2 separate regions of the Homo sapiens genome follow, and region 1 is linked to region 2. Evidence: promoter capture Hi-C in 16 types of primary human blood cells and fetal thymus (Javierre and others, 2016). All regions are on one chromosome and are shown on one strand. The core of a region is centred on a gene start or on the middle of the fragment in contact, and the rest is flanking DNA. Distances in the headings are between cores, read along the strand shown.

Evidence for each region. Contacts are between HindIII fragments. The CHiCAGO score rates a contact against its expected background, and 5 or more counts as called.
Region 1: a contact is called between a fragment that was not itself captured here and the fragment with the promoter of FZD5 in region 2, in 2 of 17 cell types (M1 macrophages and M2 macrophages). The highest score is 5.7, in M1 macrophages.

What each region holds. Positions count from the first base shown.
Region 1 is chr2:207,838,955-207,844,710 of GRCh38, reverse strand. All of the region lies in intron 7 of PLEKHM3 (pleckstrin homology domain containing M3), which reads left to right. Among named protein-coding and RNA genes, the nearest start is that of FZD5, 72 kb to the right of the region's middle. The HindIII fragment of the contact is 4,522 bases long and covers 1,765-5,756 here.
Region 2 is chr2:207,768,656-207,774,628 of GRCh38, reverse strand. It overlaps FZD5 (frizzled class receptor 5), which reads left to right and starts at 4,723. Exons shown (of 2, transcript NM_003468.4): 1 at 4,723-5,364; 2 at 5,635-5,973. The coding sequence starts at 5,890. RefSeq lists silencers at 1,891-2,366, 4,423-5,102, 5,443-5,502, 5,913-5,972 and enhancers at 2,838-3,658, 3,823-3,872. The HindIII fragment of the contact is 9,976 bases long and covers 1-5,973 here.

The sequences.
Region 1 (5,756 bases), core at 2,776-5,275, 71 kb before region 2:
GTGTAGTTGGGATCATCACCACCACATTTAATGGGAAGAATTTTGTAGCCTTTTGATGAGAAAACAAGGGAAGGTAGCATTAAAAAGTAATTCATATGAAAAATAGGCCGGGCGCAGTGGCTCACGCCTGTAATCCCAGCACTTTGGGAGGCCTAGGCGGGTGGATCACGAGGTCAGGAGATCGAGACCATCCTGGCTAACACGGTGAAACCCCGTCTCCACTAAAAAAAAAAAAAAAAAATTCTCCGGGCGTGGTGGTGGGCGCCTGTAGTCCCAGCTACTCCGGAGGCTGAGGCAGGAGAATGGCGTGAGCCCGGGAGGCGGAGCTTGCAGTGAGCCGAGATCGCGCCACTGCACTCCAGCCTGGGCAACAGAGCGAGACTCCGTCTCAAAAAAAAAAAAAAAAAGAAAAATAAATGTATGAATTGTTATTTTATAAAACCAATAGCATAATAGAGTACACAAATAATGAACCTGATTCAAAGACTGCCTTGGAAATATTGGAAGCCACTAACTTGAACTGATTTAACTTAGACTGAAAGATCTAGTGTGGCTCTGAGAGTTGGGAGGTTGAAGTATCTTAAGACCGTTCTTTGAGAATGGAGTTAAGTCCTACTTTTTTTTTTTCGAGACAGGGTTTTACTCTGCTGCCCATGCTTGAGTGCAGTGGCACTATCAGGGCTCACTGCAGCCTCCACCTCCCAGGCTTAGGTGACCCTCCAGCCTCAGCCTCCCAGGTAACTGGGACTACAGATGCACGCCACCATGCTTGGTTAATTTATCTGTGGAGACAAGATCTCAATATGTTGCTCAGACTGGTCTCCAGCTCCTGGGCTCAAGCAATCCTCCTGCCCTGGCCTCCCAAATTGCTGGGATTACAGGCATGAGCCACCACTCCCGCCCCAAATTCCACGTTTTTTTCCAGAAAGCGAATCTGTGATGGTGGAAAGGAAATTTAAATGAAAAGACTGGGGGAAAAGCAATTTATATCAATGATTGGAAAGAAAATCTTCAAATTCTAGATTGCAAAGAGACAAGCAAATTTCCCTTGGTAGCAGAAGACACAGGAGTCAGAGAGGGAGGCAGCGTGGAATGAGCTCAGAGGCCTGAGGTAACAACCTCTTCGGTGGAGCGTGGTTTTCCTGCAGTGCTTGAAATAAGCACCAGCTCAGGGGCTTAGGGACAGAAATGATGTGAATGTCAAAGCAGCAAGCAAAATGACTTTTCCCTTCCTCTGGCTTCCCTGAAAGCACATTTAAGATATACTGTTTAAAAGTGAGAGATCTAGTTAGGGGGACTTTAATACTTCCAAAGTACCTACAAGCAGTACTCAAGTCTCCTTCTCCCAGGCTAACCCTCCCATTAGTTTGTTACCTCACTTTTTCTCAGAGAGGGGTCTGGGGAGGTGGCTCAGGCAGGCTGCTACCCAAAGACAATGAAAAGGAAAAGCCCCTGGTGCGGTGGCTCAACACTTTGGGAGGCCAAAGGAGGCCAACACTTTGGGAGGCTGAGACAGGCAGATCACTTGAGCCTAGGAGTTTGAGACCAGCCTGGGCAACATGGCGAGACCCCATCTCTCCAAAAAATACAAAATGAGCCAGCTATGGTGGTGTGCACCCGTAGCTTTAGCTACACTGGTAGCTGTGGTGGGAGGGAAGATCGCTTGAGCCTAGGAGGCGGAGGTTGCAGTGAGCCGTGATCACACCACTGCACTCCAGCCTGGGTGATGGAATGAGACCCTGTCTCAATAAAACAGAAAAAGCTTAGTTCTTACTTAGCACAGCTCGATGCTTCCGCCTAAGAAGCTCACATTGGCTCCCAATGTGACTGTTGCTCCCTTTGAGAGATTCCTTTGCTGAAATACTACTATTTAGCCTTCTCTATCATATTTCTGTCTTATGAGTATGTGTGGTGTTGAAAAAAATAAGGTTTTCAGTGACTTCTTACATATCAGCTTATGGCTTGTGTACGCAGCAGAACTATTCTTATTATTGTGACTATCGGTTCCATCCAACATTTACCAATACGCAGAATGGAAACAGAAGTTCCAACGAATGTTCTCACTGAATGAAAGGGACTGCTAAAACATGCTTTGCTGTTCAGGCCTTCCCTCCTTCTTCCCTCCTTCAATGTTAATATATATCAGGCTGAAAGCATTATTGCAGTATTTTTCCAAGGTAATACATCTTTGGTTCATGCAAAGTAGAGTAATTTTAATTATTAAAAGTTTATACATTATTAAACAATTGAACCATGTTTGCTAATTTTATAAACATGTAAACAATCAGTCTAATTAGTTTAACCCACCAAACTTGTACAATGCCTTTATCCTTATATAAAAATGAAAAGCATCTGAGATGTTCAGAACGTCCAATATCTAAAGCCAGGATTAGTTCTTAACTACCTGAGGTGTTTATTATACAGGTGCATCTCATTTTAAATAAACCTTATAAATAAAACTATAATAAAAAGATGGGGGCCAGGCGCGGTGGCTCATGCCTGTAATCCCAGCACTTTGGGAGGCAGAGGCAGGCGGATCACGAGGTCAGATCGAGGCCATCCTGGCTAACACGGTGAAACCCCGTCTCTACTAAAAATACAAAAAATTAGCTGGGCGTGGTGGCGTGCGCCTATAGTCCCAGCTACTGGGGAGGCTGAGGCAGGAAAATGGCCTGAACCCGGGAGGCGGAGCTTGCAGTGAGCTGTGATCACACCACTGGACTCCAGCCTGGGTGACAGAGAGAGACTCCGTCTCAAAAATAAAAATAAAAATAAAGATCGGGGCAGTAAACTTCCCTAGTATATTTAATATAGAATTATATAGAATTTAACTTCTCAAAGTTTTATGTACATGAAGGGAGACTGTTTCTATCAGATATAAAAATGTATTGTAAAACAATATAATGGGAATAAGGATACAAAGATCACTAGAACAAGAGTCAAAAAGATTCAGAAAGTATGGAAATAGACCCAAGTAATATGGGAATTTAATACATGGTAAAGGTGGCATAGCAAATTGGTGGAACAAAAAAAGTATTATTCCATATTAGGAATTGGGAACTAATTAGCCATTTGGAAAAAGAAAAATAATGCTGCCCATACACCTTACATCAAGATAAATTCTAAGTGGATCAAATATTTTAATGTAAAATAAATAAAGCCCACAGAGTACTAGAAATGTACTAGAAAGAAATGGTGGTGAATATATATATATATATATATATATATATTTTTTTTTTTTTTTTTTTTTTTTTTTTTTTTTGAGATGGAGTCTCGCTGTGTCACCCGGGCTGGAGTGCAATGGCGTGATCTCGGCCTCCCAGGTTGAAGCGATTATCGCGCCTCAGCCTCCCAAATAGCTGGGATCACAAGTGAACATCACCAAGCCCGGCTGATTTTTGTATTTTTAGTAGAGATGGGGTTTCACCATGTTGGTCAGGCTGGTCTTGAACCCCTGACCTCGTGATCTGCCCACCTCGGCCTCCCAAAGGGCTGGGATTACAGGCGTGAGCCACCGCGCCCAGTCTATTATTTTTATCATATTAAAGTGTGAAAGGACTTTCTAAGCCATGGAAGCAAAATGCTTTTAAATACGTAAAGAGTTGTCCGGGCGTCTGTAATCCCAGCACTTTGGGAAGCCAAAGCAGGTGGATCACTTGAGGTCAGGAGTTTGAGACCTGCCTGGCCAACATGGTGAAACCCTGTCTTTAAAATATAAAAATTAAAAATTAAAAATATAAAAATTAGCCAAGCATGGTGGCACACACGTGTAATCCCAGCCACCTGAGAGGCTAAGGCATGAGAATCACTTGAACCCAGGAGGCGGAGGTGGCAGTGAGCCGAGATCACACTACTGCACTCCAGCCTGGGTGACAGAGACTCTGTCTCAAAAAAAAAAAAAAAAAAAAAAACATAAAAAGTGTTAAATGCTTAAAATTCTATAGGTAAAGATAAACATAAACAGGAAACTTGGAGAAATAATTTCAACACATGACGAAGTATTGATTTCCTTAATATGAAAGATATATTTAAAAATTAGTAAAATATCAGTAGAAAATGGGCAGAGGACATGAACCAATTTACTGAAAGAATATGCAAATGGCCAAAAACTACATGAACAACTCCATATTACAATTAAAGCAAAATTAGATTTTAACCTATTAGTTATGAGAAGATATTAATAGATGTGAAAAGCCCTATATAAAAACACTAGTTGGCTGGGCATGGTGGCTCACACCTGTTATCACAACACATGGGGAGGCCAAGGCAGGAGATCCATTGAGGCCAGGAGTTTGAGACCAGCCTGGGCAACATAGCAGAAACTTGTCTCTGCAAAAACAATGGTTTTTTTAATTAGCCAGTCATGGTGGCACACACTTGTAGTCCTAGCTGTTAATACTTGGGAGGCTGAGGTGGGAGGATCCCTTGAGTCCAGCAGTTTGAGGCTGCAGTGAACTATGATCACACTTGCACTCCAGCCTGGGCAACAGCAAGACCCTGTCTCTAAAACAAAAAACAAAACCCACATTAGTTAATATCACCTCCTATTTTCGTTTTGCAAAGTCCATATTTTTGTTTTAAATATATTATATGAAAAATAAGAGCCCTGCTGTCTTTAGCAATGATTGACTTAGAAGTATAGTTCTCAAACTTCTGTGTTCATCAGAATTCCCAGGAGGACTTGTTAAAACACAGATTGCTGGGCCCCAGCCCAGAGTTTATGATTCACTAAGTCTAGAGGGAGACCCAATAATTAGCCTTTATTTTATTTATTTATTTATTTAGAGACAGGGTCTCACTCTGTTGCCCAGGCTGAAATGTAGTGGCACCATCACGGCTCACGGCAGCCTTGACCTCCCAGTCTCAAGCAATCTTCCTACTTCAGCCTCCCCAGTAGCTGGGACCGTAGGTGTGTACTACCATACCCAGCTAATTTTTTTCTGTTTTTGTAGAGATGGGATCTCCCTATGTTGCCCAGGTCCTGAACTCCTGGGCAGGATCATCCTGCCTCAGCCTCTCAAAAGTGCTGGAATTACAGGTGTGAGGCACTGTGCTGGCCACTAATTAGCCTTTCTAACAAATTCTCTAGTGATGCTGGCTTGGCTGCATCACATTTGGTCCAGGGACCACACTTTGAGCACCACCAGCCTAGAATAAATTGAGTATTGGAAAATTATGGTTACCATCTTTGAAGAGCATTGTCTTAGAGAGACAAATAGGAGAATAATCTAAAGTAATGGCAAAACACTTTAGGTCTTTTATTTAAATGCCTTTCTCCTAAATTTACATCAATAACCAGTAACTTATTCATAAGCAACTAATCACACTGCTCATAAAGTTAGATAGGGCTTATCTTCTAGACTTTTTGCATTTTCTAATGTACATTAGGTTAATGTACATTAATGTGCATTTTCTAATGTACATTAGATTCATGTACATTAATGTGCATTTTCTAATGTACCCATGCTTGACCTTTTTTTCATTTTGGTTGTACTTAGTGTCTTAGTCCTTTGAGGAACTGAAATGTCATGTGTTAAATACAAGTGAGTCCCATTCAGAGTCTTAGGTGCGTATCTTCCTGTTACATTATTATTTCTTTTTAAAAGGCTTACTTCAAAAACTTGGCAGGTAAATGTTTCAATTTTACATTAAGAAGGTAGACTGGTAAATCATGAGAAGTTCATATATAAACCAAGATCATTTGTTTGAATCTGCATTCGCCTAATAATCTCGTATTCACTCCCTTCATCTTAGAT
Region 2 (5,973 bases), core at 3,474-5,973:
ATGGCAAAAATCCAAAACCAATACTTCAAAACTTATGGAATGTCACACGCCTATTAGATGGAATATTTAGCATTATCCTTTGTATTTTCATCAATTAATAAACACAATTTGGACAATAATTCCAGTTGAATTTCATGAGTTTGGCTTCATCAAATTATGTTTTGTATGGCAGTAGTGTCTTCAACTCAGAAATTTGACATTTGGCGAATGGATGGATTAATCGATAGATGGACAGATACATGAGTGAATAAATAGACAAGGATGCTTAACAATGTTCTAAATGCTTAAACATTGCATCTTTAAAAAAATTTGGCCAGGCACAGTGGCTCACACATGTAATCCTAGCACTTCTGGAAGCTGAGGTGGGAGGATTGCCTGAGTCCAGGAGTTCAAGACCAGCTTCAGCAACATAGTGAGACCTGGTCTCTACAAAAAGTTTTTAAAAAATTAGCTGAGCATGGTGATGCATGCCTGTAGTCCCAGCTACTCAGAAGGCTGAGGTGGATCACTTGAGCCAAGGAGGCAGAGGTTGCAGTGAGCCAAGATCGTGCCACTGCATTCTAGCCTGGGTGACAGAGCACGACCCTGTCCCCCCAACCAAAAAAAAAAAAAAAAAATTCAGTGTTTTCTAGTTTGTTGGGTAATAAAGTATGACTCAGGTGAAAATTGTGAGATATTTTATTTTTTAATTGACAAATAACAATTGTATATATTTATGATGTACCACATGATGTTCTGACATATGTATACATTCTAGAATGGGTAAATTGAGCTAATTAACATATGCATTACCTCTACATATTTTTCATTATTTTTGTGTGGTGAGAACACTTAAAATCTACTCTCTTAGCAATTTTCATTTACAGTATGTTGTTACTGAACTGTCATCATCACGGTGTGTGAAAGTTTTTGACTCCATAGACTAAATAAATAACTTCAAGCAAGTCATCAAAGTCATTATAGCACCAGTTTCTTCATCTGAGGATTAAACGACGTCTAGCACCCTGCCTAATACATGTTAAACAGCCAGCATATTTTAAAGTGCCTTCAAAATATAGACAAAAAGCAACACAATACAATACAAAAACATATACGATATAAAATGTCTTGCTCTCTCCTTTTTTTTTTTTTTTTTTTTTTTTTTAGAGATGAGGTCTCACTATATTGCCAAGGCTCGTCTTGAACTCCTGGGCCCTAGTGATCTTCCTGCCTCAGCTTCCCAAAGCGTTGAAATTACTGGCATGAGCCACCTTGCCCAGCTGAAATAAGTTTCTTTCCATAAAGTTCTCTGCTATCACTATTATTATTAGAGATCTCCAAGTAAAATTAAGATTTTGCTGTTGATGAAGAAAAGGTTTACAAACCAGTAGATAACATTGTTTTCTTCAGAACCTTTACTGGAAAAGGGTCCTGATTCAGACCCCAAGAGAGGGTTTTTGGATCTCATGCAAGAAAGAATTCCGGGCGAATCCATAGAGTAAAGTGAAAGCAAGTTTGGTAAGAAAGGGCCGAGCGAGGTGGTTCATGCTTGTAATCCAGCACCTTGAGAGTCCGACCGAGGCGGGCGGATCACTTGAGGCCAGGAGTTCCAGACCAGCCTGGTGAACATGGCGAAACCCCGACTCTACTAAAAATGCAAAAAATAGCAGGGTGTTGTGGCGTAGGCCTGTAATCCCAGCTTCCTGGGAGGCTGAGGCACAAGAATTGCTTGAACCTAGGAGGCAGAGGTTGCAGTGAGACGAGCTTGCACCCCCACTGCACTCCAGCCTGGGCGTCAGAGCAAGACTGTCAAAAAAAAAAAAAAAAAAAAAAAAAAAGAAGGAAAGGAATAAAGAATGGCTACTCCATAGACAGAGCAGCGGCATGGGCCGCCGGTTGCCCATTTTTATGGTTATTTCTTGATCATATGCTAAACAAAGGGTGGATTATTCATGAGTTTCCGGGAAAGGGGCGGGCAATTCCCGGAACTGAGGGTTCCTCCCCCTCTTAGACCATACAGGGTAACTTCCTGACGGTTGCCATGGCATCTGTAAAATGTAAACTGCTTTGGCATTGGTGGGAGTGTCTTTTAGCATGCTAATGTATTATAATTAAGTTACAATAAGCAGTGAGGACGACCAGAGGTCACTCTCCTGGCCATCTTGGTTTTGCTGGGTTTTTGCCGGCTTCTTTACTGCGCCCTGTTTTATCAGCAAGGTCTTTATGGCCTGTATCTTGTGCTGACCTCCTATCTCACCCTGTTGACTTAGAATGTCTTCACCTCCTGGGAATGCAGCCCAGTAGGTCTCAGCCTTATTTTACCCAGTCCCTATCCAAGATGGAGTCGCTCTGGTTCAAATGCCTCTGACAGAACCGTGTGAAATAACACAAATATTCTGGCTAAATTCCAGTGTGAGTGATTAACATTCTCCAACTTCAAATAATTTTTATTATTAGCCAACACTTGTCCATCCCCAGTAATACACACGTTGCATAAAGAGCACAGAATGAGATGGGCCTCCCTTGGCATGTTCATAGTCTGCACATACTTTCCACTGAGGGCTTCCCTTTCTTGCTCACTGCTATGCCCACAGCTTTTCAACTCCCACTATTTTCAACCCTGGGATGCTTCCTGACCCAGAGTGGCAAGTAATTCCAAAACACAAGAGATAAAATATGAACACCTGTAGAATTCCAGAGAAAGAAAGATGTAAGGTATATTTATTCATTTATTTAATTATGTATTTTAGAGTTGGGGGTCTTGCTATGTTGCTCAGGCTGGTCTGCAAACTCCTGGGTTCAAGCCATCCTCCCACCTCAGCCTCCCAAAGTGTTAGGATTACAGGCGTGAGCTATGGCGCCCGGCCTTTTAAACGTTTATTAATAGTTTTGATATCCGCGAAGTGATTGATATTTGTTCCTTTTTAACTTGGAGGCTGGGATTAACACACGTGTTCTTCATTATTGCCCACAAAGCGTTGTTGATACGCAGGAGGGGAGTGGCACTTCCGCAATTTATTCTTCCAACCTGTGCCAATGGGATCCAGCACAGGAGATGGACAGTAACCCGCGGTTGATCTGGATCTAGTCCAGTTAGTCCAGTCCCTATCCCTTCAAGTGTCCCCAGGCCCTCTTGCCTATTTTCGCCCTTTGCCCAGTGGAAGGAAAAGTTTGGGGAGAAGGAAAAAATTTAAACCCTCTTCCTAGGCGTGTGAATGTATTTCAAGTATGCTAAATACCTCAGTCTTCCAATCTAATTACAACACATAGAAAAGAGGCATTTTTAGGACATTTAAAACTTGTAGCATAATTGCGCAACTGAAGAGCGCCGCCGTGTCCCCGCCATCGGTGCGCCCTCCGACCCCCCGCGGCGCGCAAGTGCGCGGCTTAGCAGCAGGCAGCCGGGGACGGAAGGGCACGGGGAGGCCGGCGCCCTGCCCAGCACAGAACCCTGGGTCGGTATCGCTTCTCTCTGCGGGCGACTTCGGAACTGCCTGGGATTATAAACCTCGACCAATAAAGGACTCACATCTTTCTGGGTCTTCTAAAGGCAGAAAGAAATCCATTTTCTTGTCACAACAAGATTTTGTTAAGAGATGCAAAAGTAAAGGTCGAAGCCAGGGAGGCTGCGATAGTATGGGGGGAGGGGCGGCTACGATGGTGAGTGCCGCTGACCAACTACCTGGGTTCGAATCCCAGGGTTGCCATTTGGGCGGCTACTATGTGCCAGGTGATCGGAATACGGAGGTGAACTTGCTTGCCGAGGTCGCCCTTTCTTGGGGGAACTATGATTAGCTCGGTTGCCTTGGCCAAGTCTCAGTCTCGGTTTCTTCACCTGTAGGAAGTACCTGCCTCAGAATTGTTGTAAGGAGTGAGATCTTGTCTTAAGATGTAAACGGGCCGGGCGCGGTGGCTCACACCTGTAATCCCAGCATTTTGGGAGGCCGAGGCGGGCAGATCACGGTGTCAGGAGTTCGAGAACAGCCTTACATGGTGAAAGCCCGTCTCTACCAAAAATACAAAAATTAGCTGGGCGTGGTGGCGGGCGCCAGTAATCCCAGCTACGCAGGAGGCTGAGGCAGGATAATCGCTTGAACCCGGGAGACAGAGGTTGCAGTGAGCCGAGATCGCGCCACTGCACTCCAGCCTGGGAGACAGAACAACTCGTCTCAAAAAAAAAAAAAAAAAAAAAGGATGTAACCGATTAACACTTTGTTGGGCACACAGTAAAGGGCTCAGTAAGTATCCTCTCTTCTTTCACACAGTTCCAAGACAGCTCGGAAGGGAGACAGCCACGCCTAAGAGTGATTCCTTGAGCAGTTCTTTCAAAGAAGCACTGAACTCTGTAAGGACGCTTAGCTGCAGGCAGAAAGGGCAGGGGCCCTGGGAGCAAAGGTGCATAAGCCAGGAAGTTACAGGAGCGAGTCCTGCACCCAGGGCGCGGGCAGAGAACTCCGGAGGGACTTCTGGCAAGGGCTTCCCGCCCGGGTGCCCAGAGCGGCATGATTAGCATTCGCCCCGCCCCCATCTCCTCCAGGCCCGCGATTGGTCAGCGCTCCTTGGCTGCCCGCTCCTGGCGGGGCCAGAGGGCGCCGGGGGAAAGGCCGAGCCCGCGGGGCAGTGGGCGGGGACGCGCGGAGAGCTTGGCGAGGCGGCCCACCAACCGCGCCCGGGCCTGAGGGGGCGGAGCCGGGGCGGGGCTTCCCGGCGGGCATTAGAAGCAGGTGACCCGGGCGGGGCGGGAGAGGGCAGCCAGCCTGCGGCCGTGAGTCCGCTGTGGTCGCCGCCGCGCGCGGTTCCGTGCTCGCCAGAGGTGGGCGAAAGGGTGCGAGAGCGCGGGGGAGGAGCCGAGCAGGGCACGTCCCGAGAGCGTCGCCACCGCCCCCAGGAGTCCACTGGAGCGCGGAGCCCCCTGCAGGGGAGGAGGCGAGCGGCGGGCGGGACGCGGCGGCCGGCGCTCACCATGCAGTCCCGGCCTGGCCAGCGCCGGCTGCTCGCGGTGCTGTGAGGCGGCGGGGTCCCACGGCCCCCGCCTCCCGCCTTCCTCCCGCCCAGGTGCTGCCAGGCGCGCTCGCCCTCCGTCCGGCTCCCGGCCCCGGGGAGAACGCACGGCCTGCCCCTGCCCGGCTCCGTCTGGATCATGCGGGGGGCTCCCGAGGAGGAGAGGGCGAGTGACCGGCCTGCGCCGCCCCTGTTCTGGGGGCGCCCCCCACTCTGAGTCGCCCCCACCTGCTGCCATGTGCCGCTGCCACGGGTACCCAGCCTGTCGCTAAACTTTCCGGGCGCCAGCCCGGCTCTGAGTCGCGCTTCTCAGCGGAGTGACCCAGGGACGGAGGACCCAGGCTGGCTGGGGACTGTCTGCTCTTCTCGGCGGGATCCGTGGAGGTGAGAACCTTCCCTTTCTCCCTGTTCTTCTCCCGTTTCCTGTGCCCTTTTCCGGGAAGCTGAGGGTTCTGGTCTCCGGGCACTGCCTGAAGGGCCCAGCTTGGAAAGAGAGGGTGGGGGAGTCGGTAGTTTGGTTACAGGAGGCGGAGCGGGGAGGAAAGGAAAGGGGTTAACTTAAGAGATTTGGAGACAGCTCGCGGGGACCGAACTGTTGACGCCTCTCCAACAGGGAGTGGTTGCAATCTTTCTTCTCCCCCTTCTTTTTTAAAGAGTCCTTTCCCTGGAATCCGAGCCCTAACCGTCTCTCCCCAGCCCTATCCGGCGAGGAGCGGAGCGCTGCCAGCGGAGGCAGCGCCTTCCCGAAGCAGTTTATCTTTGGACGGTTTTCTTTAAAGGAAAAAGCAACCAACAGGTTGCCAGCCCCGGCGCCACACACGAGACGCCGGAGGGAGAAGCCCCGGCCCGGATTCCTCTGCCTGTGTGCGTCCCTCGCGGGCTGCTGGAGGCGAGGGGAGGGAGGGGGCGATGGCTCGGCCTGACCCATCCGCGCCGCCCTCGCTGTTGCTGCTGCTCCTAGCGCAGCTGGTGGGCCGGGCGGCCGCCGCGTCC